Regions from separate parts of the Homo sapiens genome. Here regions 2, 3 and 4 are each linked to region 1. Evidence: promoter capture Hi-C in 16 types of primary human blood cells and fetal thymus (Javierre and others, 2016). All regions are on one chromosome and are shown on one strand. The core of a region is centred on a gene start or on the middle of the fragment in contact, and the rest is flanking DNA. Distances in the headings are between cores, read along the strand shown. Region 1 holds the start of DLG3 (discs large MAGUK scaffold protein 3). Region 2 overlaps TEX11 (testis expressed 11). Region 3 overlaps TEX11 (testis expressed 11). Region 4 overlaps TEX11 (testis expressed 11).

The links. The method cuts DNA at HindIII sites, captures the fragments that hold promoters and counts their contacts. A CHiCAGO score of 5 or more calls a contact.
Region 2: a contact is called between a fragment that was not itself captured here and the fragment with the promoter of DLG3 in region 1, in 1 of 17 cell types (M2 macrophages). The highest score is 8.3, in M2 macrophages.
Region 3: a fragment that was not itself captured here is called in contact with the fragment with the promoter of DLG3 in region 1 in 1 of 17 cell types (M2 macrophages); the score reaches 7.4 in M2 macrophages.
Region 4: a fragment that was not itself captured here is called in contact with the fragment with the promoter of DLG3 in region 1 in 1 of 17 cell types (M2 macrophages); the score reaches 7.4 in M2 macrophages.

The regions. Positions count from the first base shown.
Region 1 is chrX:70,439,895-70,447,789 of GRCh38, reverse strand. DLG3 (discs large MAGUK scaffold protein 3) reads right to left here and starts at 2,955. Exons shown (of 19, transcript NM_021120.4): 1 at 2,232-2,955. The coding sequence starts at 2,588. RefSeq lists an enhancer at 2,651-3,437. The HindIII fragment of the contact is 21,076 bases long and covers 1-7,895 here.
Region 2 is chrX:70,644,101-70,651,995 of GRCh38, reverse strand. TEX11 (testis expressed 11) reads left to right here. Exons shown (of 30, transcript NM_031276.3): 17 at 444-546. Among named protein-coding and RNA genes, the nearest start is that of DLG3-AS1, 190 kb to the right of the region's middle. The HindIII fragment of the contact is 4,065 bases long and covers 1,536-5,600 here.
Region 3 is chrX:70,603,247-70,611,141 of GRCh38, reverse strand. It overlaps TEX11 (testis expressed 11), which reads left to right. Exons shown (of 30, transcript NM_031276.3): 21 at 599-639; 22 at 1,965-2,051; 23 at 4,113-4,183; 24 at 5,625-5,741. Among named protein-coding and RNA genes, the nearest start is that of DLG3-AS1, 150 kb to the right of the region's middle. The HindIII fragment of the contact is 787 bases long and covers 4,624-5,410 here.
Region 4 is chrX:70,582,540-70,590,434 of GRCh38, reverse strand. The region is part of intron 25 of TEX11 (testis expressed 11); the gene reads left to right. Among named protein-coding and RNA genes, the nearest start is that of DLG3-AS1, 130 kb to the right of the region's middle. The HindIII fragment of the contact is 670 bases long and covers 4,835-5,504 here.

The DNA of each region.
Region 1 (7,895 bases), core at 1,706-4,205:
TCTGGACATACAAGCAGCACCTGCCTGCTGGCTCCCACTTTCACCTCCAAGAATGGAGAAGCCCTCTTGCCTGTCTCCCCAGGTACCCTGGCACCCCTCCCCCACCTTTCTCTGGCTATGTTGTCCCTTCCCTGACCTCTAGCCTCCTCCTCAGAAGTGGGGAGCTGGAAACCAGGGTGGGGGCTCCTCCACATGTCCTGCTGTGCTTCCCCCGTCCCACCTCCACCCCACACAGCTTTGGCTTCAAGAAGCAGAGAGGAGGAGAGGGAGAGAGGACTAGCTCATCATGCCTCCACCATTTCTGGGCTGGCTCTGCAGCTGTGGGAGTTGGTGGGAGGACTCCAGCTACAGCCTTACCCTGGTCTGTGACCCCAGGAAGAAGAACTGAAGGCTCCTTAGAGACCCGAAACCAACACAGCTGCCTTAAGTACCATGCAACAGACACATAAGCAAAGGGACACCCATGTGGCTCTTGTGTGCATTTGGTGTACCATGTGTGCCCACATGTGACAAGCCATGCCTCAAGCCCAGCCCCAGTGGTACCCAGAGGCTTCCCGTTCCCAGTGGTCCACGCTCTAGCCCCCACCCCTACTCAAGGACCTTGTTCTCAGGGCCAGGAGCCATCCAGGGATCAGCCCTGGCAAAGAAACCTTGGCCAACTGGCCCAGCCTGGGATTGCCACCTGTCTCCCAGCCGGGCAGGACAAGCATAAGAGGGTGTTTGCGAGAGAAAGGCCTCCAGGACAGAGAGGGGGCAAAGGAGAGAGAGGGACTCGCTGGAAAGGGCAAGAGGCCAAGGCAAGGGATGTGGGAAAGCAGTAAGTGTGGACAGACAGAAGGCCAGAACTGAGGGCTCTTCTCCCCAGGAAGTCCCCACCTTTGCCTCTGAGTGAGAGCACATCCTATCCCCAGAGGACAGAGGCAGCCAGAACGGTCACCAGCTTGGGGAAGTCATCACCTGCCCTCGACAGCAAAGCCTCCTCTTCCTCTCTCCCCACCCTAGGAGCTGCAGAGCCGGATAACCAGACAGGCCCTCCGCCTTGCGTGCCAGGGACCTGGCTCTGCCAGCCCAGCCTCCATTTTGCTGCTTCTCCCACAGATGCTCCTTCCATTTTCTAAGCTGGCAGTTTAGGCTGGGAGTGGAAGCCGGAGTTGTGCCCAGCACCCAGGGGCTCCCAAGCTGTGCCAAGTCAGGGCTGGGGGGCTAAGCCCTCTCACATCTGGAGGTACCCAAGGGGGACATGCCCCACTGGGGCCAGTCTCTGCACCAGGGCAGCTGCCCCTTGCCGGCTCCAGGCACCATGCCTGCTCTAGAGCGAGGAGGCTTGCTTCAGTTCCTTCAAATCTCCCCCCGCCCCCCGCCACCCCACCCCGGCACACACACTACAGAGCTGCTTGGACAAAAGAGTCCGTCCTTCTCAGCAGCCTCTCAGCCTTGCTTGGGACATGTCTCTCGCCTCCTTCCTCTCCCCTCCCTTGCCTGTCAAGCGCCTCTCACCAGAGACAACACATACAAACACACACTCACACACACACACCAGGCACACGCGTGCACACTCTTGCAGCCACATGCTCACACACATATACATGTAGCCACACACACAAACACAGCCATCCCTGCAGCCTCCTCTACAGAGACCTCTCCACATTCAGAGTGACATCTCCACACATCCATGTGCACATTCACACACAAAGGGACTGGGACGGAGAGGGACTCATGGCATCAAGGGATGAAGCTCAGCGAGCCGGGCACATGGGCTCCTCCACACGGATTCACGGCAGCTCCATTGCCTTCCTCCACACACCCCAACATACATACACACACATATGTCCCCCCTACGCAGAGCACCATGCCCCCTCCCCTCCCCTCCGGTGGAGACACACACCACACACAGCCCCCGCAGAACCTCCCGCCCCCTGCCAGACACAGAGACATTGCCAAACCCCCACACTGAGACAAACCCAATTCCCCCACACAGGAAAATGTGCCCCTCCGCCATGCCCTTACCCCCTGACACACGGCTCCTCCCAGTCTTCTAATGGAGACCCCCAAACAGACACACACAGGGAACCACACATTTCCCACCGCCTCTCTTTGCCCAGCTGCAATGCTAGGGCTCGGGGTCCACAGGCTTGGAGCCCCAGCGACCCCTACTGCATCCCAGGCCTCTAGGCCCCCACTCTCCAGCCCTCCTGGGTTGCCCCACCGCTCCCCCCTCCGCTGGTCCATACCTGCTCATACCAGTCCCGGTTGGTACAGGTGCACTCTGGCCACCAGCTGGGGCCGCTGCCGTTGAGTTTGGGGGTGCTCTTGCCCGGGACTGGCTTAGGAGGCACCGGCCCCACATCCCGGCCGGTGGGGATGAGCTTGGCCTTGGTGCGAGGGGTGGGGGTGGCCCCCGCCTGCGAGGGCAAGGTCTGCGAGCTGTAGCCCCCATAACCCGCGCTGGCGCCGTTGCCCCCACCTGGCCCGTAAGGGTCGGGGACTTGCCAGTCGCCGTAGCCCGGAGGCTCGAGGCGCCGCAGGGCGGCCAGGCGGGTCACCTCATAGCACTCAGGGCACTTACAGCAGTGCTGGTGCTTGTGCATGGCACTGCCCCCCGCGGCTCGGACCCCCCAGCCCACGCCGGATTCCACGCCGCCGCCACCGCCGCCACCACCGCCGCCGCCGCCGCCGGGCTCCCTGGCACACTCACACTGCTCGGACCAAGAAGGGGGGGGCACCCGTGGGGGCGCCCGGGCTGAGCGGGGCCTGGGGCCGGGCGGGCGTCCCGGGGCCTCGGCCCCCACGCTGCCCCGCACCCACGGCTCCCCCTCCAGCACTGGCGGCTCCGTGTCGCCCGTCGTGGCTTCTGGGCCGAGGCCCAGCGGCAAAGAAGAAGCGGGAGCTCAAGCAGAGAATGGGTGCTGTGAGGACCGCTTCTGCTCTGGTCCCCAGGATGGATCTGAGTGGAGTCAAGAGCATCTCTCCCTGGCTCCCTTCTCAGTTGATTCCAGCCAATCAGCGCGCAGAGGCAGGCAGCGGCAGCGGCAGCGGCGGCGGCAGGAATGCTAAACAGCGGCTACTTAAAGGAACAGAGGCAGCGGCGCCCCCAGGCTCAGCCCCAGCTCCCCCAATCTCTAGGGAACTGTTGGCTCTAAGGGCGGGGGCAGAGGACGTGGGCCACCAGAAAGCTCAGGCACCCGATCTTGTGCCCTTATATCGCCAGTTTTAGCCTGTCCTCTGCCCACTCCACCCCACCCCACTTCCAAGAGGGAGTTGCAGGGAGATGTTCAATGGGTCCCCAGGCTTGCTCTGAGCTGGGGCCACCAGAAGTAAAGACGAGGTAGCAGGATGGACAGAAAGGACGTTGGAGCAGGGTGAGGGAGGTGCTTTCTCTTACAGGGGACCAAAGAAGAAGGCAGCATATGAGGCCCGCTGTCCTGTCAATGCCTCCTACACAAGACTATTGTTCTCTCAGTCTCTAGGCCCTGAAATTACTGTGACCTCACACTTGACCTTCTACCATCACCAGTAAAGAACTCAACCCTAGAACAGGGATTAACAGAAAGCTCTAAGTCCTTGTCCCTGGCCCACAAACCCCTATCTCCTCCACTCCACCCCTGCATGGTTATGATGGGGGAAGGAACTTCAGGATATCAAGATGAAAGTCCAGGACAGGTGAAAAGGTAAGAAGGGATTTGAAGAGAGAGAAACCCTTCTATGGGTCTGGAATAGAGCTTAGGAATACTTGTCCAAGGACATCTCCTTACCCTCTCCTGGCTCAGCTTGTCGGGGGAATGGAGGAAGGATGACATACAAGAAAGACTATCTTTTTTGCAGTTCTTGTTTTGTTTTTAGCTACCAATTATTGGGTCTTTACAAAGTCCTAAGTGCATAACACGCAAACCCAAATCCTACCAAGCTGATGCTATTATTATCTTCATTTTACCAATGAGAAATTGAGGCTCAAAGATGTTAACACAGCTAGGTAACACAGCTGGAAGTGACAGAATCAGGATGCAAATCCTGATTATTTGACTCCAGAGTCCACGCTGTGAACCACTCTAGTACGACAGGTCTATTCTAAGTTCTCCTGCAGAATTTACATCTCAGTTCAATTCAGCAAATATTCATTGAGCACCTGCTCTGTGCAAGACCTTGACCTAGGTATTAGGGATACAGAGGTTCTTTTTTTTTTTTTTTTTTTTTTTTGAGATGGATTCTCATTCTGTCACCCAGGCTGGAGTGCAGTGGCGTGATCTCAGCTCACTGCAACCTCAGCTTCCCAGGTTCAAACGATTCTCCTGCCTCTCAGTCTCCCTAGTAGCTAGGACTACAGGCTCCTGCCACCACGCCCGGCTAATTTTTGTATTTTCTTAGTAGAGATGGGGTTTCATCACGTTGGCCAGGCTGGTCTCGAACTCCCGACGTCAAGTGATCCACCCACCTTGGCCTCCCAAAGTGCTGGGATTGCAGGTGTGATCCACTGTGCCCGGCCCTCAGAGATTCATTCTTAATTCAACAAATATGCGTGGAACACTTGCTGTGTGCCAGACACTGTTGTAGGATTTGGGGATATAGCAGGAAACAAAATAAAACAGAACAAACAGAACAAATCCCTGCCCTTGGGGAGCTTACCTCCTAGTGAGAGGACACAGACAAAAATAAACACAATAAATAAGTGAATTATGTAGTACAGTAGGTCCTCATTTAACATCATTGGTAGGTCCTTGGCAACTGGGACTAAGTGAAACAACGTATAACAAAACCAATTTTACCACAGGCTAATTAATATAAACAAGAGCTAAGTTCCTACAGCATATTTCTGGTCACAAAACATCACCCAGCTTCCAAATAAAGACCCAAAACACTTCTGATATTGAACATTGAAATAAATATGAGCTATGCATACATATAGAAAGATTAATGAAAACAAGTAAATAATTACCTAACCTTTGGTGAACCAGTGAGTGACAGCAGTGGAAGTGGTGGTGGGTTGAATCAAGGAATAAATGTATGCAAAGCGAAAATTGTAAGGAGCACCTCCCTACCACCATGCAGTTCAAAAGCAAACAATCACGAATATGGTGAGCTCGATGAGCACTTTCTTACCTCATAGTTTATTGTGCATTTGTATGATTATCAACTACTTGACAAATTTTTATTTTACAGTACTTTGTATCCATCCATCCATCCATCCATCCATCCATTCATTCATTTTTCAATCTGCTTATTTCAGTTCAGGGTCAAGGGTGGCCACAGCCTATCACAGCAGCTCAGGGTACAGGGCAGGAACCAATCCTGGACAGGATGCCATTCCATCACAGGGTGCGCTCACATACACACCCACACTCACTCACACTGGGACAATTTAGACACGCCAATTCACCTAACGTGCACTGGGATGTGGGAGGAAGCGCAGTACCCTGGAATACCCGAGAAAACCCACACATACATGGGGAGAGTGTGCAAACTCCACACAGACAGTGGCTCTGGCCAGGAATCGTTTTAGTTGTTTTTTTTTCCCCCTCATCAATGTTAAAACAAAATGATGTTGAAGAAAACAACATTATTCAGCATATACACCTGCTGTGTATATGGTGATAAGTGCCATGGAAAAAAATAAAAAGTAGAGCACAGTAAGATGGATTGGGAATGGTAGGGGAGGATACCAAGTTGTGATTTTTTTTTCAAGTTTTTTGCCCCCACAGTTTAATATGAAAGTTTTCAAACATACAGAAAAATTCAAAGAATTTTACAGTGAACATCCAATTACCCACTGCCTAGGATTCTCATTAACATTTTGCTATGCTTGCTTTATCATATATCTATCCTCCACATATCCTCTCCAACAGTTTTAAAAATGAAAATTTACAAACATACAAAAATATTGGAAGAGTAGTACAATGGACACCACTGTATGCCTTCCTTATCAAGTCGACAATTTGACTTGTTTTGATTGTTATATTTGCTCTGTCTATGTATCTATGTATCTATCCATCTATCTATATTTTTTAAAGAGTAGGTCTTGCTCACTCACTCAGGTTAGAGTGCAGTGGCGTGATCATGGCTCACTGCAACCTCAAACTCCCGGGCTCAAGCAATCCTCCCACCTCAGCCTCACAAGTGGCTGGGACCACAGGTGTGTGCCACCATGCCCAGTTAATGCTCTATCTATCTATCTATCTATCTATCTATCTATCTATCCCTTTTTCTGAACCATTTACATGTAAGTTTCATTACATGTAAATGGTTCCATTATTCATCTGTAAGTTTTGATAACTTCCTTTAGCCATTCTTTGTCTGCTGGCAACAAATTATCTTAGCTTTCCTTTGTCTGAGAATGTCTTGATTTCCCCCTCATTCCTGAAGGATATTTTCACCAGATATAGCATGCTGGAGTGCAGTGGTGTGACCATAGTTCACTGCAGCCTTGAAACTCCTGGCCTCAAAGTGATCCTCCTGCCTCAGTCTCCCAAGCAGGCTCCTCAGTAGGTGGGACTATAGGCGCACACCACTCCTGGTTAATTTTTTTATTTTTAGTAGAGACGAGGTCTCATTATGTTGCCCAGGCTGGTCTCAAACTCCTGGCCTTGGGTTATCCTCCCACCTTGGCCTCCCAAAGTATTGGAATTACAGGTGTTAGCCACTGTACCTGGCCACATTTGAATTCCTTTTCCTATGTAGGTAAGGTGTTGTTTCTCTCTTGCTGCTTTCAAGTTTCCCATCTTCAGTTTTCAGAAGTTTGATTATGATGTGCCTTGGGGTGAATTTGAGTTTATCCTATTTGGGGTTTGTTCAACCTCTTGAACCTGTTCATTTATGTCTTTTGCCAAATTTTCAGCCATTATTTCTTGAGTAATTTTTTTTAGCCCCATGCTCTTTCTCTTCTTCTTCCACATCTCCAATTATGTGAATGTTAAGTCCTTCGTTATAGTCCCAAGCATCCCTGAGGCTCTGTTCATTTTTTTTTCTTTGAGACTCTGTTTCATTTTGTCACCCAAGCTAGAATGTAGTGGCACAATCACAGCTTACTGCAGCCCCGATCTCCCAAGCTCAGGTGATCCTCCCACCTCAGCCCCCTGAGTAGCTGGGACTACAGGTGTGCATCACCACATCCAGCTAATTTTTGTATTTTTAATAGAGACAGGGTTTCGCCATGTTGCCCAAGCTGGTCTTGAACTCCTGGGCTCAAGTGATCTGCCCACCTCAGCCTCCCAAAGTGCTGGGATTACAGGCGTGAGCCACTGTGCCCAGCTCTGTTCATTTATTTTTTGTCTATTATTTTCTCATTGTTGTTCAGATTGGGTAATTTCTAATGTTCTATCTTTATGTTCACTGATTCTTTCCTCTGTCCTCTCCATCCTCCTTTTGAGCTCATCTACTGAGTTTTTTAGTTTGGTTATTATAGTTTGTTCTAAAATTTTATTTGATTCTTCATTATATCTCTTATTTCTTTGCCAAGACTTACTATTTTTTACATTCGTTTTAACCTTGTTTGTAATTGCTCATAGATTGCTCATAGAAGCATTTTTTTTAATGTTGGCCACTTTAGAATCTTTGTCAGGTAGTTGAAATCTTTCTCTTTCTCATTCAAATTGAGGGTCTCCTGGTTCTTGGTATAATGAGTGAATTTTTTTTTTTTTTAAGACACAGGGTCGGCTGGGCGCAGTGGCTCACACCTGTAATCCCAGCACTTTGGGAGGCCGAGGCGGGTGGATCACAAGGTCAGGAGTTCGAGACTAGCCTAGTCAATATGGTGAAACCTGTCTCTACTAAAAATACAAAAATTGCCTGGGCGTGGTGGCGGGTGCCTGTAGTCCCAGCTACTCAGCAGGCTGAGGCAGGAGAATCGCTTGAACCCGGGAGGCGGAGGTTGCGGTGAGCCAATATTGCGCCACTGACTCCAGCCT
Region 2 (7,895 bases), core at 2,319-4,818, 200 kb before region 1:
TCCCCTGACCTAGTGATGTCCCTCAAAACTGAAGTTAACATTTGCTTACATTTGCAAATGCTTACCAGATAAAAGCGACTTTACTTTTCTGTTTACCTCTCTGAGACCTCAGTTTTCCTTAGATTTTGCCTTGGTAATTCTTTTGCTATTTGTCAGTTGCTCTTTTGTTCTTTCTGGAAAAAAATTAATATATCATCCAATATTTTTGGTTGTTTTCAGCAGGAGGGTTGGTCTGACATATCTAACTTACTCTATTTCCAGAAGTATAACTCACTGTTGCATTAGCATTCTAGAAGAGCACTTCTGCAAATATTTTTCTTAGATTCATATATTTTCATTGTGAGTATCCCTCAGCCATTTTGACTACCTTAATGATATTAGTAAAATATGGTAAGTCCTTCCTTGTAGATTTTATTAAAATGACCCAGTGTTTTTCTTTCCAGGCCAAAGAGGCAGTGGCAGAAGCTGAACGACATGACCCTAGGAACGTTTTCACTCAATTTTATATATTCAAGATTGCAGTCATAGAGGGCAACTCTGAAAGAGGTATAAATTTTATTTGTCACTTATATTTGACTATTAACACAAAGAATAAATAATCCTCTTCAACCACAGTGGGAAAAAAACATTGTTTTTAAGACAATAGAATTGAATATATGTTCTGTCTTTCCTATGTAAAGGTGATACAACAATGCAAAAAGAAACCGTGGAAGGTTATATAAAAGTAAAAGAACAGTGGTTACCTATTGAGGGAATAGGAACTGGGCAAACGCGGGACAAGAATTAGGGGAAAGTCTTATCACTATGTACTTTTTTATACTTTTATTTAAACCAACCTATTCAAAAATTAAATTTAAAAAGCTGTGTGTGGGTGAGATTATACTAAAAACCCATATCAGTTAAGAATTGTCTTCAAAAAATGAAAGTTGGGGTACCTTTTGATTGTTTTCACTTATTTGGGAGGTGATTGGTGAGAGATTTGGCCTTGAGATGGAGTTTCTCTCCACAGAGTAGACAGTCTTGGAATTTCACACATGACCCTCATCCCATTAATGTTGAGGCCTTTCCATTAAGTTAAGCATAGTTTCCTAGCTGGTGTGTCTGCATGGGCACATATATGTTGAATTGGTTATAGATATGCCTTTGCTCAGATATTAATGCCTTCAGCCCTCAGGTAGCTGAATTAATCCTGAAGGAGTCTGAGCTCCAGACTGGTTGCCATTTGTTTGGCAGAAGTTAAGAAACTTAAATTAATGGATCCAAACAAAATGTATACGAATCCAATTAAGCAACTGTTTTTGGACACCTACTACGTACAAAGGACTCTGTTATTCACTCCTTAAGAAAAAAGATCATTTATTTTACATTAAAAAAGAAATGTTCCAGAATAGTAAAGTATACCTGTATAATAATTAAGGAATAGTAAATTAGAGGTTAATATTGCTGTCATGTTCATCATCAAAGTTTTCATTAGAGACTTTTAGGCATTTGTTTTACTTGATATACTGTGTTTAAGGGTAAAATAACTTGAAGCTTTTTTGCCAGTAAAAATGGCAAAAATATTAGTAATTTTCCTGTTAAATCTTTTGTTTTAACATTATTTTTTAAAAATTATTTTACTTTTTAAATACAACATCAGATCAACCCTTTTATTTCTTCTCCAGTTGTCTGTGACCATTTTTTAAGTCACGTATATTGAAGATACATATAATAAATTTACTCTTGCTAGTGTATGGTCCTATGAGGTTTATATATGTTAAAAATTCTGAGTTTTGAAGTGCATACAGTCATATAACTACCACCACAATGTAGAAAAAAAATACCTCAGGGCCCTTTACTGTTACTCCTTCTCACCACTTTCAGCCCTGGAAATCAGTAATCTCTTCTATCTCTATAGTTTTGTCTTTTCCAGAATGTCATATAAATGAAATCATATAGTATGAATCTTTTTGAGCTTCTTTCACTTAACTTAATGCATTTGAAACTCACCCATATTGTGTTTATCCACAGTTTGTTCTTTTTTATTGCTATGTGGCATTCCATAGTATGGAAATACCACAGTATGGAAAAATGCATTCACCAGTTGAAGGATATTTGAATGGTTTTCAGGGTTTTTTTTCACCTCTGAGACAAGTTCAAAGTTTTCAGTTTTGACAATTGTGAATAAAGGTGCTGTAAAACATCTCTTTACATATTTTCTGTGATAATAATATTGTTTTTTTGAGATGGGGTCTTGCTCTGTCACCCAGGCTGGAGTGCAGTGGCATGATCTCAGCTCACTGCAATCTCCACCTCCCAGGTTCAAGCGATTCTCCTGCCTCAGCCTCCTGAATAGCTGGGACTACAGGTGTGCACCACCATGCCCAGTTAATTCGATGATAATATTTTACTTCTGTAGGGTAAATATCTAGGAGTGGGACTGTGGACTTATATGGTAAATACATGTTTAACTTTATTAGAAACTGCAAAACTGTTTTCTAAAGCGACTATACAATTTCACCTGTGAACCAGCTATGTTTAAGAGTTCTAGCTGATCTACATCCTCATCAGCACTTGAAATTGTCCACTTAAAAAAATTTAGCCATTCTGGGAGATTATTAAAAAGTCAAGAAACAACAGATGCTGGTGAGGCTGTAGAGAAATAGGAATGCTTTTACACTGTTGGTGGGAATGTAAATTAGTTCAATCATAGCGGAAGACAGCATGGTGATTCTTCAAGGATCTAGAACCGGAAATACTATTTGACCCAGCAATCCCATTACTGGGTATATACTCAAAGGAATATAAACCATTCTATTATAAAGATACATGCACACGTGTGTTCATTGCAGCACTATTCACAATAGCAAAGACATGGAACCAACCCAAATGCCCATCAATGGCAGACTGGATAAAGAAAATGTGGTACATATACACCGTGGAATACTATGCAGCCATAAAAAGGAATAAGATCATGTCTTTTGCAGGCACATGGATGAAGCTGGAAGCCATCAACCTCAGCAAACTAATGCAGGAACCGAAAACCAAACACCACATGTTCTCACTCATAAGAGGGAGATGAACAATGAGAACACATGGACACAGGAAGGGGAACAACACACACTGGGGCCTGTTGGGGGCGGGGAGGGGAGGGAGAACATCAGGACAAATAGCTAATGCATGTGAGGCTTAAAACCTAGGTGATGGGTTGATAGGTGCATCAAACCACCATGACACACGTATGCCTACGTAATAAAACTGCACTTTCTGCACATGTATCCTAGAACTTAAAGTTAAAACAATAAAAAAGAACAAAAATTTAGCTATTCTGATAGTGGGTAGTAGTGTTTTACTGTGGCATTAGCATTTCCCTAATGTTTAATATTTTATTAAACCATGTATGTTTTTGGGTTGTTTGTACAAATCTTTTTCCCAGTTTAAGATAGGGTACTTTGTTTTATTATTACTGATTTTTGACAGTTCTTTATATATTCTGGATACAAGTTGTCTTTTTTAAAAACTTATTTTTTTAATTGGCAAATAAAAATTATATATATATTGATCATGAACAACATGGTGGGTTTTATTTATTTATTTATTTTATTATTATACTTTAAGTTTCAGGGTACATGTGCACAACATGCAGGTTTGTTACATATGTATACATGTGCCATGTTGGTGTGCTGCACCCATTAACTCGTCATTTACATTAGGTATATCTCCTAATGCTATCCCTCCCCAGTCCCCCATCCCACAACAGGCCCTGGGGTGTGATGTTCCCCTTCCTGTGTCCAAGTGTTCTCATTGTTCAATTCCCACCTATGAGTGAGAATATGCGGTGTTTGGTTTTTTGTCCTTACTATAGTTTGCTGAGAATGATGGTTTCCAGCTTCATCCATGTCCCTACAAAGGACATGAATTCATCATTTTTTATGGCTGCATAATATTCCATGGTGTATATGTGCCACATTTTCTTAATCCAGTCTATCATTGATGGACATTTGGGTTGGTTCCAAGTCTTTGCTATCGTGAATAGTGCTGCAATAAACATACGTGTGCATGTGTCTTTATAGCAGCATGATTTATACTTCTTTGAGTATATACCCAGTAATGGGATGGCTGGGTCAAATGGTGTTTCTAGTTCTAGATCCCTGAGGAATCGCCACACTGACTTCCACAATGGTTGAACTAGTTTACAGTCCCACCAACAGTGTAAAAGTGTTCCTGTTTCTCCACATCCTCTCCAGCAACAACATGGTGTTTTAAAGATATGTATACATTGTGGAATGGCTAAATCAAGCTAATTAACATATACATTACCTCACATCCTTTTTTTATTTTTTATTTTTTTGAAGCAAGGTCTTACTCTGTCACCCAAGTGGAAGTGCAGTGGAATGATCACGGCTCATTGCAGCCTTGACCTCCCAGGCTCAAGAGATCCTCCACCTCATCTTTTTTATTATTTTTTGTATAGATGGAGTCTCACTATGTTGCCCAGGCTGGCCTCAAACTCCTGGGCTCAAGCAATCCTCCTGCTTCAGCCTCCCAAAGTGCTAGGATTACAGGCATGAGCCATCACACCCAACCCTACCTCACATACTTAGCATTTTTTTTGTGGTGAGAACACTTAAACTCTCAGTGATTTTTAAGAATAGAATACATTGTTATAATCTATAGTCACCATGTTGTACAATAGATCTCTTGAACTTGTTCCTTCTGCTCAACGGAAATTCTGTATTCTTTCACCATCTCCCTAATCTCCCCGACTCCTTAGTCCCTGGTAACCACCATTCTACTTTGCTTCTATGAACATTCTATTCTGCTTCTATGAGGTCAACTTCTTTAGATTTCACATATGAGATCATGTGGTATTTATTTTTGTGTGCCTGGCTTATTTCACTTAATATAATGTCTTCGAGGTTCATACCTTTTTTTCATAAATGACAGGATTTCCTCCTTTTATTGAGGCTGAATAGTATTCCATTGTCTATATATACACCAGATTTTCTTTATCCACTTATCCACCGATAAACAGTTAAGTTGATTCCATACCATGGCTATTGTGAATAATGCTGCAATGAATATGGGAGTGCAGATATCTCTTTGACATATTGATTTCACTTCTTTTTTATATTCTACTACGTAGTGGGACTGCTGGATCATATGGTAGTTCTACTTTAATTTTTTTGAGGAACCTCCATACTGCTTTCCATGATGGCTATACTAATTTACATTCCCACCTACAATATGCAAGAGTTCCCTATTCTCCGCATCCTTGTCAGCACTTGCTCTCCTTTGTCTTTTTTATAATAGCCATTCTAGCAGATGTGGGGTGATGTTATCATCGTGGTTTTAATTTGCGTTTCTCTGATGAGTAGTGATGTTAGACATTTTTTCATATACTTGTGGACCACTTGCTCATCTCCTTTTGAGAAGTGTCTTGTCAGGTCATTTGCCCATTTTAAAATCAGGTTATTTGTTTCCTTCCTATTGAATTGTTTGAATTTCTTATATATTTTGGATGTTAACCCCTTCTCAAATGCCTGGTTTGTAAATATATTCTCCCATTCCATACATTGTGTCTTCACTCTGTTGATGGTTTCTTTTGCTGTGTGGAAGCTTTTTAGTTTGATGTAATCCCATGTGTCTATTTTTGTGTTTAGCAATGTCGTGGAACTTTTCCTCTATGTTTTCTTTTAGTAGTTCTACAGTTTCATGTCTTACGTTTAAATCTTTAATCTATTTTGAATAGCTTTTTTATATATTGTGAGAAAAGGGTCAAATTTTATTCTTCTGCATGTGGGTATCCAGTTTTACCAACACTATTGGTTGAAGAAACTGTCCTTTTCTCATTGTGTGTTCTTGACACCTTTATTGAAAACCAATTGACTGTAAATGTGTGGATTTATTTCTGGGCTCTCTATTTCCTTCCATTGGCCTATGTATCTGTTTTTCTGCCAATACCATGCTGTTTTGATTAGTATAGCTTTGTAGTTTATTTTGACTTCACATAGTATGGTGACTTCAGCTTTCTTATTTTTGCTCAAGATTGCGATAGCTAGTCAGGGTCTTTTTGCTTCCGTGGAAACGTCAGTATTTTTTTTTTTATTTCTGGGAAAAAATGTCACTGGAATTTTAATAGGGATTGCATTGCATCTGTAGATTGCCTTGGGTAGTATGGACATTTAACAATATTTTTCCAATCCGTGAACCTGGGATATCTTTCCATTTCTTTGTGTTTTCTTCACTTTCTTTCATCAGTGTTTTATAGTTTTTAGTGTACATGTCTTTCACTTCAACATTAAATTTGCTCCTAAATATTTTTGTAGCTATTGTAAATGGAATCATGTTTTTAATATTTTTTCAGGTAGTTTGTTGTTAGTATGTAGAAATGCTACTACTTTGTGTATATTGATTTTGTATCTTGCTACTTAATTGAATTCACTTATTGGTTCTAAATTTTTTTTCATTGCCTCTGTAAGGTTTTCTATATATAAGATCATGTTATTTACAAGCAGACAATTTAACTTCTTCCTTTCCAACTTAGATATTTCTCATGCCTAATTACTCTGACTAGGACTTCCAGTAGTATGTTGAATAGAAGTAGTGAGAGTGGGCATCCATGTCTTCTTCCTTATTTTAGAGGAAACGCTCCTAACTATTCACCATTGAGTATGGTGTTATTTGTCCATTGGTCATATATGGCCTTTATTGTGTTTTTTTTTTTAAATCATGGAATGATGTTGAATTTTGTGAAATGATTTCCATTTTTTGGAAGAATTTGAGAAGGATTGGTATTAGTTCTTTAAACGTTTGGTAGGAGCAGTGACACCATCAGATCCTGAGCTTTTCTTAGATGGAAGATTTTTTGTTATTCATTTAATCTCCTTATTCATTATTTGTTCACATTTTCTATTTCATTATGATTCCATCTCGGTTTTATATGTCTAGGACTTTATCTTTCTTCTAGATTATCCAATTTCTTGGTACATAATTGTTCATAGTAGTCGCATGATTTTTTATATTTCTCTGGTACCAGCTGTACTGTCTTCTCTTTCTTTTTTTATTTTATTTATCTTTTTTTAATTTTTTTTATTATACTTTAAGTTTTAGGGTACATGTGCACATTGTGCAGGTTAGTTACATATGTATACATGTGCCATGCTGGTGTGCTGCACCCACTAACTCCTCATCTAGCATTAGGTATATCTCCCAATGCTATCCCTCCCCCCTCCCCCCACCCCACAACAGTCCCCAGAGTGTGATGTTCCCCTTCCTGTGTCCATGTGATCTCATTGTTCAATTCCCACCTATGAGTGAGAATATGCGGTGTTTGGTTTTTTGTTCTTGCGATAGTTTACTGAGAATGATGATTTCCAATTTCATCCATGTCCCTACAAAGGACATGAACTCATCATTTTTTATGGCTGCATAGTATTCCATGGTGTATATGTGCCACATTTTCTTAATCCAATCTATCATTGTTGGACATTTGGGTTGGTTCCAAGCCTTTGCTATTGTGAATAATGCCGCAATAAACGTACGTGTGCATGTGTCTTTATAGCAGCATGATTTATAGTCCTTTGGGTATATACCCAGTAATGGGATGGCTGGGTCAAATGGTATTTCTAGTTCTAGATCCCTGAGGAATCGCCACACTGACTTCCACAATGGTTGAACTAGTTTACAGTCCCACCAACAGTGTAAAAGCATTCCTATTTCTCCACATCCTCTCCAGCACCTGTTGTTTCCTGACTTTTTAATGATTGCCATTCTAACTGGTGTGAGATGGTATCTCATTGTGGTTTTGATTTGCATTTCTCTGATGGCCAGTGATGGTGAGCATTTTTTCATGTGTTTTTTGGCTGCATAAATGTCTTCTTTTGAGAAGTGTCTATTCATGTCCTTTGCCCACT
Region 3 (7,895 bases), core at 3,768-6,267, 160 kb before region 1:
AGAAGCTTGACAGAGGGGTCAGGAAACCTGGGTCTACTCTTTTCTTCATCTGTAAAATGATGTGTCTGTACAAGATAAGTTATTTTTTAAGCTGCATTCCTTAGAACCGTGGAAATTTTGTGGCACTGCATCAGGGACTTCCAGGAAGGTGAAACTCCAAGCCTCCACCCACTCCTCGTTCAACCACAGCAGCTCAACTTTTATCTTTTATCTTTTCTTGTATATTAGACTTTTATACAACTTTATTTGAAATAAGGGTTCTAGTTCCCCCCTTCAAAAAAGCTTATAAATCACAGAGATCACCAGCTGCTCTCAAGTGTTATGACCCTACAATATAAAACCTTGTCATTGAAATCCTTTGCTGAGAGTTTATGAAGAAGTAGAAGAGAGAAAAAATATGAGGGCACTGGGAATGAGTAACTGTATCCTACAGTGGGGAAGAAGATTGTTGAAATGGTAGATTGGAGTCCTGAGCAAAAAACTTCACAATTTTGCATTTTCTTAGTTCAATTCTCAGGCACAAATAGTGTCCCTTTTTAGTTATGTTTTATAGTAAAGATTTGGAGCAGTTGGAAAATATCCTTTTCTTTATTTTTAGGAAGAAAGAAATGGATCGACTTTTGACTTGCCTGAATAGAGGTAAATATCTCCCTGGTTATATTCAGTCCTTCATCTTGCCTCTATTCTCTGTTGAATTCTCCAAGTACACTAAGCACAGCAACTTTAACCTTATGTTTGAGTTAAGCTTCATGCTCCTTATTAATCTTTGCCACAGGAATCTATTTTGGTTTCTTCATTCACAAGCAGAGAAAAGTGTGTCATCATTAGCATTCATCTCCAAATGTGATTTCAGTTCTGTTTTAATTCCTATTTGTTTTAAGGACATTTCCTTCCCTCCCTCCCTCCCGTCCCTCCCTCCCTCCCTCCCTCTCTTCCTTCCTTCCTTCCTTCTTTCTCTCCTTCCCCCTTCCCTCCCTCCTTTCCTTTCCTTCTCTCCCTTCCTCCCTTCTCTCCCTCCCTGTCCCTCTACCTTTCTTTTCTAGTAGCCACTTGATCCTAACCTAAGAATTGAACAGGTGAAAAAAGATCAAGACAAATAAAAATACTCTGAACCCTGCTGTTTTTTTCATACCCTCTGAATCAAATTCAGGTTGCATATTCTCTTATTTTGAAGCTGTCCACCCAAGTCTGTGCCATCTCCCTTATCTACTAATAATTTTTCCCTGTCCACTTTATTCAAGCTAATCTCCTAGTTGTATCACATTTTTTTTCTAACTACATGCTTTTTTACATGGCATCCCTTTTAACAGATCTCCCATTTTTACTGTCCATGTACCTCTTTCCTTATGTCCAAAACACACCAAAAAGTTCATATCTTAGAAATTCTATCCTGCTCAGTGCAGTAGTTCAATTTTATACCTCAAATACCTGTCAGCAGGGTGTTAAACATAGCAAAGTGGTTTAGAAACCAGACCACTTCTTTTCAAAAGAGAAAAACTTTGCTGGTTGGCATTCTTATTTCTCAGAAAGAGAATGCCTTCTGATAGTGATAGCACATTCTGGTTCTGTCCTGAGCTTGCTGGCTCAGTAAATATTATGCCAGCATATTGATACCCTTCTAATTTTCAATCTCCAGTTCAGTCTTTTAAACGATTGTTTCTATTTTTTATTTCCTCACATGTAAATCATATCTTTCTACCTCAGGTGGTGAATGATTGCACTAATTAAAATTATAAATCTCTCCAAAGACATGTTTGTTCCCCAGAGTTTGAGTTAACAACTTCTTGGAACTTGGTAATGCTTTCTGTCATTTTAATTACTTTTGGTATGCACCCCTACACACATACACAAAAAAGAACTTTCTAAATTCAAACTCCTGTGAGACTGTTCTTAAAGCAGGATTAAACAATTTTGCTAGAGTATAAAATAAGACCATCAGTATCAAATTTTCCTGTTTGATGCAGCCTTTGTGAAACTTTCTCAGCCTTTTGGTGAAGAAGCCTTAAGTTTGGAGTCAAGAGCTAATGAAGCTCAGTGGTTTCGAAAAACAGGTAAGAGGAAATTCTGTGGCTCTGGGAAACATTGTGGGGTGGTGGAATTAGACAGATGTGATTTCAAATTCTGGATCTTTCATTTGTAGCTGTGGGTACAGAGATAACTTGCTTAATCTGTTTTATTACTTATAAAATGGAAATAGTTATATATACTTCATGCAGTTATTAAGGGTTTTAAATGAAACAGCATATATACTTTTTTCATAGTAGATACTCAATGGACATTAGTTGTGTCCCTTTTCTATAGAAATGGGTCTAAGATGAAACTAATGAACTGTAACTACAGGTCCTCAAGGTTGTGCTCCTAAACTTGGTTTAGAATACTTAATTTTTTTTTTTTTTTTTTTGAGATGGAGTCTCGCTCTGTCGCCCAGGCTGGAGTGCAGTGGCTTGATCTCAGCTCACTGCCAGCTCCGCCTCCCGGGTTCACACCATTCTCCTGCCTCAGCCTCCCTAGTAGCTGGGACTACAGGCACCCGCCACCACGCCCGGCTAATTTTTTGTATTTTTAGTAGAGATGGGGTTTCACCGTGTTAGCCAGGATGGTCTCGATCTCCTGACCTCGTGATCCACCTGCCTCGGCCTCCCAAAGTGCTAGGATTACAGGCGTAAGCCACCGTGCCTGGCCTAGAATACTTAATTTATTTCTGAGTGTGATTGACCAAAAATGAACTATATACAACAATATGGATGAATCTCACAAACATAATGTTGAGCAAAAGAAGCTAGATATTGAAGAATACATATTGTGTTGTTCATTTTATTTATAATTTTTTAAATGGGCAAAACTAATATATGGTGTTATAAGTCAGGATAATGGTTACCCTGGAAAAGGAGTTGGACTTGAAAGTTGTAGGAGCTTCAGGGTTTCTGGTAATGTTCAAGATCTTTCTTAATGTGGGTGCCAGACGCATGGATATGTCCACTTTGTGAAAATTCATCAAGCTGTACAATTATGAGTTGTGTAATATACTTTATAATGGCTCTATTTCAATAAAAATGATTTTAAAACTTGCGGAGGCAGTTACTACAGTGATAAGTAAGCATGAGCAATTAAGCAGCAGTGCCACAAAGTGGACTGATTCTACATGAACCTCTCCCTGTGTTATGAGGTTTAATAGGGCTTTAATCCTGGGAGAAAGGGAATGAATACTGCAATCTGACTTCTAAGAAACTGATGCAAATAATGAAAAATAACAAACATTTAAAATATAGACAAGTTTGGTGACTTTAATCTTTTGAAGGTTTGAAAAGGAATGTTTTTACTTTACTGCATTTTAATTTGGATTTTCCAAGGGGAAGATGATGCTGACTGATGCCTGATGAGGGCTTCTACTGCTCTTTGGAAGATATGAATCTCTCCAGTAATTTTTCTCAACTCTTGATTACAGTGTACCTTGTTCTTAGGTGAATTTTAACTTACTTTCACCACTGCGAGTTAGTGAGCTCTATCCATGTTGATCTTCATTTTTAGATAGATTAGTGTCAATTAAGAATTTTTTTTTTTTTTGAGACGGAGTTTTGCTGCCAGACTGGAGTGCAGTGGTGGCATCATAGCTCACTGTAACCTCAAATTCCTGGTGTCAGTCTTCTGGGACTATAGTTGTGTGCCACCACACCTGGCTAGTTTTGTTTTGTTTTGGTTTGTTTTTTAATTTTTTTGTATAGACGGAGTCTCTCTCTGTTGCCCAGGCTGGTCCTGAACTCCTGGCCTCCAGCAATCCTCCTGCCTTGGTCTCCCAAAGTTCTGGGATTATAGGAATGAGCCACCAAGCCTGGCCTCAGCTAAGAATTCTTATTGCATGTCCCCAATTTTAAAAAATTCAGCAGTACCTCCCTTGGTCATTGGTCTAGTGTTGAAGATTGGAATTGACGAGGGTCTCTAAATTTACCTGGAAAATTTTTCTTTAAAACCTAAAGTTAATTGTTTAAACCTTGAGAAACCCCTTACTAGTATGTTAATATCAAAGGTGTAAGTATCAGAAATTGTAATGGTACAGACTAAATGGTAGATTTTCATAATTTCATATTATTATGTTATTTCATGTTAATTTCCAGCTTGGAACTTGGCTGTGCAATGTGACAAAGATCCAGTGATGATGAGAGAGTTTTTTATACTTTCTTATAAGGTAAGTTTCTTTTAATAAGTATCTCATGTATGGACCACAACAAGGCTATAACCACTATGGCTATAGTAAAGGGCTAAATATAGACTAGGATTGTCTCTTGATCTAGGAACTTTTAATATATATGTAAGCAGGAATGACCTAAGAAGAATTTGTTCCTTTTAGGGTATAACATAAGAATGTGGGGCATATCTTTCTATACCAAAATATCAGAAACATTCATCAGGGAGCCTAAAGTTCTACCATTTAAGACTTATTTCTTTGCCTTTGAAGGGATCTCAGCCTCCCAAAGTCCTATATTAAAATGTAAATATCTTTAGGAGGGGAATACTCTAAGTAGTTGTTAATTACCAACACATTATGAAGAGTTATGGGAATAAGTCTACAAGAACATAGAATAAGTATCTGGGGATAGCAGGGGCTGAAAAAAGAGATAAGAAGCTTAGGCCTCCTTTATAACTTTCCTATAGCAGGTCCTGAGTGTAGCGATTTGTGAGTTTGTTATTTAATTATAAGCATTTTTAAATAGTCGTTGGCCTCCAAGGTAGAGGTTAAATGCCAGAAAGAGGACCAAGTATTGACAGGAAGATAAAAGGAGAAGGACTAAAGAATATCCTTCATACACATTCAGGAATACACAGTATGATATGTTGAGATCAATTAAATGTTAAGAGTTTTAGAGCTAGAAAGAACTATAAAGACTATCTAGCACAACTCCTTCATCTCACATAAGAGTAATCAGAGACCTAAAGAGATTGGTTGTCTTAAAATGCTATTAATTTAATAACAATGATGATTATGATCACTGAATGTTTGGGGAGATTAAGAAATAGTCTTTGCAAGTTTAGGCATAACTGCCATTTTAATTAAGTGAAATAAATTGGTTTTAGTTTTGGCATTTGTGATGGGACTTGTAGGATTGGCGTGTAAGAATCCAAATGGCCTAGAGTTTTATTGTAGTAGCTGGGAGTTTTTCCTAAAACTATACAATGTTAATGATGAGGTCATGACTAATGCCTGTCAAGATTTGACAATGCCTCTTTCAACCATGACAATATATGAACTAATTTTGGCTCTATTCAATACAAAGGTGGAAATCTTATTTGCCAGGGGAAAAATCACTTACAAATTACAACATAAACCAAGAAGTAAATCACTAGATAGAAATACAAGGGCGAATGATACTACTTGTCACTGGAAAAGATAGGAATACTGTGAAGAAATGAAGCTTTTTATCTCTAGGAAGGTACTAAAAACAATGGAAAGTAATATAAAATTAAAAGCATAAATCAGTATTATAGTTTATATCATTTCTATGGTGACATGTGCTTTTCCAGCTGAATTTTCTCATTCAAACAGGAAGTTGCTGATTTTCATTCTGATTGTTTGTGTTCACCTGGCAGAATTCTCACTATTCATTGATGTTCTGGTTACTTCTTATCAGATGTCCCAGTTTTGTCCTTCTGATCAAGTAATTCTGATTGCACGGAAAACATGTTTACTTATGGCAGTTGCAGTTGATCTAGAGCAAGGGAGAAAAGCTTCAACAGCTTTTGAACAGGTAATGTGCAACCTTCAAAGAAAAGACAAGAGTTCAGTGTGCTATTTGATATGTTTGCCTTCCCTGATGCAGTTCTTTTTGATTCTCTTTAGAGAATCCTTTTCTCCACTCCAGCATCGTCTTGATTTCAAAAGTTTGTAATGGCTAATTCCTTCCTAAGCAAAGGTTACTTTTGGTGTGGCCTCTTCTTTTAAGAAGATTAGATATCTCTTCTTTTAAAATTCCCCTTCCTATGGACCACTCTTTCCAAAAATGTTTTTAAATATCTTTTATCTTCATTGTCTGCCTGTGATTATATACGCGTTTGGACTCCACTTTTGTTTCTTACCACATCTTCTAAGGAAGAACTCATCTGTTTCCATAGCTTTGATAGCCATCTGAAATTATTACTTATCTGGTTTTTCTTCTCTCAATTGCATTTGCTTTCTTTTTCCCACATCCTTAAATATCTCATTAACTTAATTTCTACAAGACAGAATTCCTTACCTTTGCCTGAATTCCCCTATCAGATTCTTAAATGTTACCCCTTTTAGGAGCTATCAATATCACCGTCTCCCATACACCAGATTATTGGTTTGCTTTTAGCTGTTTACCTTTCTTCTTTCAATCTAAGAAAATTGTCTCCAAATCAGACCAATAGCATTTTTGTATGATTTTTAAGATCTAGATCTCTCTGCTTGGTTTCTCGTACCTGGACAAAGAAAACTTCCTAATCTCCCATACTTGTCACCTTCCCTCCTCTCCAAGTAATATAAACCCTTTGCTGTTTATTCTCTTCCTCCTGTTAATCTCTTATTTCATATTGTTCTTTGGATCTGAAACAAACTCTCACCAGAGCTATGCCAACTATTTCGCTTCTTTTCCCTTCCATTGTTGAGTTCAACTCAAAAAACATTTGAGCACCAGACACTTTTCTAGGTACTGGGGATACAGAGATAAAGAAGCCAAAGTCCTTGCCTCTGAGGAGTAAAGGGGGCCCTCTTTTAAGAGTCTTTTTATTTTAAAAGAAGATGAGAAAAGACTCTACCTTCCCCAGAGCAAAATAAACAAACAAAAATTCTACTTAACAGGCAAAGGTAAATGTAATTTAATTCTCAATAGGGACTTTTGCTTTACTAAAAAATAATAATAACATCTTATTTTTATATAGTGCTTTTAAATTTCTAAAAGTTTTTCCTTTTTGGTTGGTAATCCTGAGTTTGTTTAATTTTTTATCTTAGTGAATAGAGATCAAATTGATGTGGGGGAAATTTCACAAACTCTTAAGTACAATCATTATTTTGTTTGTTTCTAACTACCGTTCTTTTTTATTCTGTGTTCTTTCTCATGTACACCTCTGTGTTTTCTCAGAACTCTCTAAACTAGTAACCTTTCTATAATCTTCTTTGCTTTTGAAAGGATGTCTATATACATAATTGAAGATGCACTTCTGCCTTTTATCATCTAAGTGTGGTCCCTATGAATCGGACAGTGGTACTCTGTCTCTCTAAAGAATACTTGTTCATGTCCTTCGCCCACTTTTTGATGGGGTTGTTTGTTTTTTTCTTGTAAATTTGTTGGAGTTCCTTGTAGATTCTGGATATTAGCCCTTTGTCAGATGAGTAGGTTGCGAAAATTTTCTCCCATGTTGTAGGTTGCCTGTTCACTCTGATGGTAGTTTCTTTTGCTGTGCAGAAGCTCTTTAGTTTAATTAGATCCCATTTGTCAATTTTGGCTTTGGTTGCCACTGCTTTTGGTGTTTTAGACATGAAGTCCTTGCCCATGCCTATGTCCTGAATGGTAATGCCTAGGTTTCCTTTAGGGTTTTTATGGTTTTAGGTCGAATGTTTAAGTCTTTAATCCATCTTGAATTGATTTTTGTATAAGGTGTAAGGAAGGGATCCAGTTTCAGCTTTCTACATATGGCTAGCCAGTTTTCCCAGCACCGTTTATTAAATAGGGAATCCTTTCCCCATTGCTTGTTTTTCTCAGGTTTGTCAAAGATCAGAGAGTTGTAGATATGCGGCGTTATTTCTGAGGGCTCTGTTCTGTTCCATTGATCTATATCTCTGTTTTGGTACCAGTACCATGCTGTTTTGGTTACTGTAGCCTTGTAGTATAGTTTGAAGTCAGGTAGTGTGATGCCTCCAGCTTTGTTCTTTTGGCTTAGGATTG
Region 4 (7,895 bases), core at 3,920-6,419, 140 kb before region 1:
TATTTGGTCATAGTATGTTATTATTTTAATATATTGATGAATTCTGTTTTCCAACATTTAGAAATTATTGGTCTGTCACTTTGTTTTTGCTTATGTGTTATGTCTTTGGCAGTTTGAGTATCAAATTATAGGAATTATAAGGAAGAACATAAACATATGAAATTTAATTTACTTCTCGTAGTCTATGACAGTCACTTAAATGAATAAAAACAACAAAAAGTAAAGATAGAGAAAACCCAAATAAAATACTTATTATAGAAGATTTAATGGGAGTAAAACTCTGTAGCCTGAAAATATACTGTGTATCCTGAGAACAGAAAACATATCATCTTTTCGTGTGCCTTTTGAAGTTTTACAAAATTGATGTCAAGGAAGACCTGAATAAATTCTAAGACATGTAAATAAAACAGACAACATCGTCTGATCACAATGCAAAAACTAGAGATTAACATTGGAATCATTCTTTTGAAATACCCTACCACCTGGACATTTTTTAAAAACCCAAACTACAGTATACCTAGGCTCTAATGGTAATGAAAATAACTCATAGTAGAATTTAAAGTGCTAAAGCAGTGCTCAGAGCAAATTCATTGCCTCCGTGACTTTTCTTTAAGCAAGTATGCAGTGGCTCACGCCTGTAATCCCAGTACTTTGGGAGGCCGAGGTGGGTGGATCACATGAGGCCAGGAATTCGAGACCACCCTGCCAACATGACGAAACCCCATCTCTACTGAAAATACAAAAACCAGCCAAATATGGTGGCATGTGCCCGTAATCCCAGCTACTTGGGAGCCTGAGACACGAGAATCGCTTGAACCCCGCAGGCGGAGTTTGCAGTAAGCCTAGATTGTCCACTGCACTCCAGCCTGGGCAGCACAGCAAGACACTGTTTCCAAAAAAATAAAAAATAAAAAAGTATGTCAGAATGCTAACTGTCCACCAAAAAAAATGAATTTCTTCTTTTTTAGGAATACAACTAGGCTATAGATAGAGTAGATAGAGAGATATAGTGAGATAGAGATAAATGCCTCTCTATATATACATATATATAGTCTAAGTATATTTTTATACACACAGCTAGACTATATACATATATATATGTATCTATATAGTTTATATATAGACTTCAGGCAATCTTCAGAGTTTTTTTAACTGTCTATACATTATAGAGATTTAATGGCTGTAGTTAATTAAGGTGACTAATATCAGAATGAAGGAAAGTAAAATTCCCTATTGGAAAACAGTACATTATTTCATGAAAGTTTTGTGGTAAAATATATATAACATAAAATATGCTATTTTGACCATTTTTAAGTGTACAGTTGTACAACCATTACCACTATCTATTTTTAAATTTTTTCATCATCCCAAACAGAAACTCTGTATCCATTAAAGAATAATTTCCCCATTCCCCCTTTCTCCAGCCCCTGGTAACCTCTCATATGCTTACTGCCTCTATGAATTTGCCTATTCTAGATATTTCTTTCTTTTTTTTTTTTTTTGAGTTGGGGTTTTGGTCTGTTGCTTAGGATGGAGTGCAGTGGCACAATCATAGCTCACTGCAGCCTTGAACCCTGCGCTCAAGCTATCCTCCCACCTTGACCTCCTTAAGTGCTGTGATTACAGGTGTGAACCACCATGCCCAACCCTAGATATTTCCTTTAAGTGAATCATACAATATTTGTCTTTTTGTAACTGGCTTATTTCACTTAGCATAATGTATTCAAGATTCGTCCATGTCATAGCATGTGTCAAAATTCCCTTCCATTTTAAGGCTGAATTCTATTCCATCATATGGTGTATTAGTCCATTTTCATACTGCTGTAAAGAACTGCCTGAGACTGGGTAATTTATAAAGGAAAGAGGTTTAATTGACTCACAGTTCAGCATGGCTGGGGAGGCCTTAGGAAACTTAGAATCATGGCAGAAGGCGAAGGGGAAGCAAGGCACCTTCTTCACAAGGTGATGGGAAGGAGAAGTGCCGAGTGAAGGGGAAGAGTCCCTTATAAAACCATCAGATCTCATGAGAACTCACTATCACGAGAAGGGCAAGAGGGAAATTGCCCTTGTGATTCAATCACCTCCACCCAATCTCTCCCTTAATACATGGGAATTATGGGGATTACAATTCAAGAAGAGATTTGGGTGGAGACACAAAGCCTAACCATATGGTTCCACCCCGGACCCTCCCAAATCTCATGTGCCTTTCACATTTCAAAACCAATCATGCCTTCCCAACAGTCCCCCAAAGTCTTAATTCATTCCAGCATTAACTCATAAGTCCATGTTCAAAGTCTCATCTGAGACAAGGCAAGTCCCTTCCACCTGTAAGCCTATAACAGCAAAACCAAGTTAGTTACTTCCTAGATAAAATGGGGGTACAGATATTGGGTAAATACACCCATTCCAAATGGGAGAAATTGGCCAAAACAAAGGGGCTACAGGCCCCAAGCAAATCTGAAATCCAGCAGGGCATCAAATCTTAAAGCTCCAAAATGATCTCCTTTGACTCCATGTCTCACATACAGGTCATGCTGATGCAAGAGGTGGGTTCCCATCGTCTTGGGCAGCTCTGCCCCTGTGGCTTTGCAGGGTACAGCCTCCCTCTTGGTTGCTTTCACGGGCTGGCATTGAGTGTCTGTGGCTTTTCTGGGTGCACAGTGCAAGCTGTCAGTGGATCTACCATTCTGGGGTCTGGAGGATGGTGGCCCTCTTCTTACAGCTCCACCAGGCAGTGCCCCAGTGGGGACTCTGTGTGGGGGCTCCAACCCCACATTTCCCTTCCTCACTACCCTAGCAGAGGTTCTCCATGAGGACTCCACCCCTGCAGCAAACTTCTCCACGGACACCCATTTGTTTCCATACATCCTCTGAAATCTAGGTAGAAGTTCCCAAACCTCAATTCTTGACTTCTGTGCACCCACAGGCACAACACCACATGAAAGCCACCAAGGCTTGGGGCTTGCACCCTTTGAAGCAATGGCCTGAGCTGTATGTTGGCCCCTTTTAGCCATGGCTAGGATGTGGCTAGAAGTCACAGTTCCAAGAGTACACAAAGCAGAGAAGCCCTGGGCCTGGCCCAGGAAACCATTTTTCCCTCCTAGGCCTCCAGACCTGTGATGGGAGGAGCTGCCTTGAAGGTCTCTGACGTGCCCTGGAGACATTTTCCCTATTGTCTTTGTGATTAACATTGGGCTCCTCATTACTTATGCAAATATCTGCAGCCAGCTTGAATTTCTCCCCAGAAAATGGGTTTCTCTCTTCAGTTGCATTGTCAGGCTGAAAATTTTCCAAACTTTTATGCTCTGCTTCCCTTTTAAACATAAGTTCCAATTTCAGATCGTCTCTCTCAAGTTCATAGTTCCAGAGGTCTCTAGGGCAGAGGCAAAATGCCACCAGTCTCTTTGCTAAAGCATAGCAAGAGTGACCTTTGCTCCAGTTCCCAAGAAGTTCCTCATCTCCATGTGAGATTATGTCAGCCTGGGCTTCACTGTTCATATCACTATAAGCATTTTGGCCAAAACCATTCAACAAGTCTCTAGGAAGTTCCAAACTTTCCCAGATCTTCCTGTCTTCTAAACCCTCCAAAGTGTTCCAACCTCTTACCTGTCACCCAGTTCCAAAGTCACTTCCACATTTTTGGGTCTCTTTATAGCAGTACCTCACTCTACTGGCACCAATTTACTGTATTAGTCCATTCTCGCCATTTTACATTCCCACCAGGAAATGTATCTTAATTTCTCCACCTCCTTGCCAACACTTGTTGTTTTCCATTTTTTATTATTATAGCTATTCTAGTAGGTTAAATAGTATCTCATGGTTTTGATTAGTATTTCTCTGATGACTAAAGATGTTGAGCATCTTTTCATGTGCTTATTGGTTATTTGTATTTCATCTTTGAGGGAGGGAAAGGACTTGTCTATTCAAGTTCTTTGCCCATATTTAAAATTGGGTTGTTTTTTGGTGTTGCGTTTTAGGATTTCTTTATATATTCTGTATATTAAACCCTTATCAGGTATATGATTTGCAAATATTTTCTCCTGCATGTTTTCTTTTCACTTTCTTGATAATGTCCTTTGATGTAAAAAAGTTTTTAACTTTGATGAAGTCCAATTTATCTACCTTTTCTTTTGTTGCTTGTGCTTTCAGTGTCATGTCAAAGAATCCATTGCCAAATCCAAAGTCATGAAGATTTATTCCTATAAATTCTTCTAAGAGTTTTATGGTTTTAGCTTATATGTTTGGGTAATTGATCCATTTTGAGTTCATTTTTATATTCAATGGTGTAGTAGGCATCCAACTTCATTCTTTTGCCTGTGGAAATCCAGTTGCCACCATGCCATTTGTTGAAGAGACTATTATTTTTTGTTTGTTTGTTTGTTTTGAGACGGAGTTTTGCTTGTTGCCCAGGCTGGAGTGCAATGGCACAACCTTGGCTCACTACAACCTCCTCCTCCCTGGTTCAAGTGATTCTTCTGCCTCAGCCTCCCAAGTAGCTGGGATTACAGGCATGCACCACCATGCCTGGCTAATTTTGTATTTTTAGTAGAGGTAGGGTTTCACCATGTTGGTCAGGCTGGTCTCGAACTCCTGACCTCAGGTGATCCACCCACCTCGGCCTCCCAAAGTGCTGGGATTACAGGTGTAAGCCACCACACCCGGCCTGAAGAGACTATTCTTTGTCCCATATAATGGTCTTGACACCCTTGTTGAAAATCAGTCAGCCATAGATGTATGGGTTTATTTCTTAACTCTCAGTTCTATTCTATTGGTCTATATGTCTATCTGTATGGTAGTACCACACTGTTTTATTACTGTAGCTTTCTAATAAGCTTTGAAACAGAGAAGTGTTGGCCCTCCAACTTTGTTATTTTTCAAGATTCATTTTGAACTATTGGGGCACCTTACAATTCCATATAAATTTGAGAATTGACTTTTTCATTTCTGTAAAAAGAGGCTGGTGGAATTTTGATAGGGATCGCTTAGCGTGATATAAGTTTTGAAATGTTGACATCTTAACAATATTAAGTCTTCCAATCCATAAATGTAGGCTGTCTTTTCATTTATTTAGGTCTTCTTTAATGTCTTTCATCAGTGTGTTATAGTAATCATTGTACAGATCTTCCACCTTCTTGGCTAAATTCATTCTTTTGAATACTATTGTAAATGAATTGTTTTCTTAATTTCCTCTTTAGATTGTTCATTGCTGATGTATAGAAACACAATTGATCTTTGCATGTTCATCTTGTACCTGCAACTTTGCCGAATTTGTAGCTTTCTTGTGGTTTCTTTGGGATTTTCTATACGTAGGGTCATGTCATCTGTGAACAGTGAGAGTTACACTTCTTTCTTTTTACTTTGGATGCCTTTTGTTTCTCTTTGTTGCCTAATTTATCTGGCTAAAACTTCCCGTACAATGTTGAATAGCAAACTTCCTGTACAATGTTGAATAGCGGTAGTGAGAGAGGGCATCCTTGTCTTGTTCCTGATCTTAGGGCTAAGCTTCCACCTTTGAGTATAATGTTAACTGTGGAATTTTTTTTAATGCCCTTTATCAGATTGAGGCTATTCCCTTCCATTCCTAGTTTATCTTGAAAATATTTTGGATTTCATCACATGATTTTTCTGCATCAATGAATATGACCTTTTTTCCTTTTTTCTATTGATGTGGTATATTACATTAATTGATTTACTTATGTTGAACTTGCGTTCTTGGGATAAATCACACCTAATCAGATTGTATAATCCTTTAATATGCTGTAAGATTTGGTTTGCTAGTATTTTCATGGGGTTTTTTTAATTGATATCCATAAAGAATATTGGTTTGTAATTTTCTTTTCTTGTGATGTCTACATTTGGCTTTAGTATCAGGGTAATGCTGGCTTCATAGAAGAAGTTAGGAAGTATTCCCTCCTCTTCCATTATTTGGAAGAGTTTGAGAGAACTGCTGTTTATTCTTCTTTAAATGTTTGGAAGAATTCACCAGTGAAGCCATCTGGTCCTAGACTTCTGTTTATTGGGAGGTTTTAAATTACTTATTTAATCTCTTTACTTGTTATAGGTCTGTTGAGATTTTCTATTTCTTCTAAAGTCAATTTAGTAATTTGTGTGCTTTTAGTAATTTGTCATTTTTTTTTTTTTTTTTGAGACGGAGTCTCGCTCTGTCGCCCAGGCCAGACTGCGGACTGCAGTGGCGTAATCTCGGCTCACTGCAAGTTCCGCTTCCCGGGTTCACGCCATTCTCCTGCCTCAGCCTCCCGAGTAGCTGGGACTACAGGCGCCCGCCACCGCGCCCGGCTAATTTTTTTTTTGTATTTTTAGTAGAGACGGGGTTTCACCTTGTTAGCCAGGATGGTCTCGATCTCCTGACCTCATGATCCACCCGCCTCGGCCTCCCAAAGTGCTGGGATTACAGGCGTGAGCCACCGCGCCCGGCCAGGAATTTGTCATTTTATCTAAGTTATCTAATTTTTTGATGTACAGTAGTTCATAGTAATCTCTATTTGTGATTCAATTTTTGGAAGGTAAAATCAAGAGTTGTTAGAGGCAAATTGGGCCTTGATTAAAATAGGATCTGGTAGTTCTGTTTTTAGTTCTTTGAGAAATCTTCACACTGTTGTCCATGGAAGCTCTACTGATTTACATTCCCACCAGCAGTGTAAAGCATTTCCTTTTCTCTGCATCCTTGCCAACATCGTTATTTTTTGACATTTTAATAATGGACATCCTGACTGGTGTAAGATGATATGTCATTGTGGTTTTAATTTGCATTTTTCTGATGACTTTTCAATCCAGCAATGCCATTACTAGGTATCTACCCAAAGGAAAAGAAATTATATATTAAAAAGATACCAGCACCCATATATTTATTGCAGCACTATTCACAGTTGCAATGATATGGAGTCAACCTACGTATCCATCAATGGAAGATTGGACAAAGAAAATGTGGAATGAAGATACACACAATTAAATAGTACTCAGCCATAAAAATAGAATGAAATCAGGTCATTTGCAGTAACGTGGATGAAACTGGAGGCCATTATCTTAAGTGAAACAACTCAGAACCAGAACGTCAAATACTGCATGTTCTCACTCATAAGTGGGAGCTAAATAAAGTATGCACATGGACATAGAGTGTGGAATAATGGACACTGGAGACTAGGAAGGGTGAGATGGTGGGAGGGGGTTAAAGGATGAGAAATTACTTAATAGGTACAATGTACATTATTTGGGTGATGGTTACAGTAAATACCCAGACTTCACTACTACTTAATATATCCATGTAACAAAACTGAACTTCTGTCCTTTAAATTTATATAAATTAAAAATAAAAATAAATAAATAGGATCATGAGTGCCCAATAAACAATACTTGGTTACCTATTTAAACAAAGTGACAATCAAACATTTAAAAATAAACATAGGGCTTTGGAAGGCCGAGGTGGGTGGATCACCTGAAGTCAGGAGTTCAAGACCAGCCTGGCCAACATGGTGAAACCCCGTATCTACTAAAAATACAAAAATTAGCTCGGTGTGGTGGTGCACGCCTGTAATCCCAGCTACTCGGGAGGCTGAGGTAGGAGAATTGCTTGAACCTGGGAGGTGGAGATTGCAGTGAGCCAAGATTGTGCCACTGCACTCCAGCCTGGGAGACAGAGTGAGATTCCATCACATAAATAAATAAATAAATAAATAAATAAATAAATAAATAAATGTACATAGGAGGTAACACAATTCTAACATAGGAGGTAACACAATTCTAAAGAACTTTAGCTCTTTGACAAGTGAGGAACCTTTGTTCTTTGTTAGTTTGCCACTAAATAATCAAAAATAAAGAAAAAGACAACATAAAGCTCAGAGAATTATTCTTGTAAAACACAGAGTCTGCTATCTAGG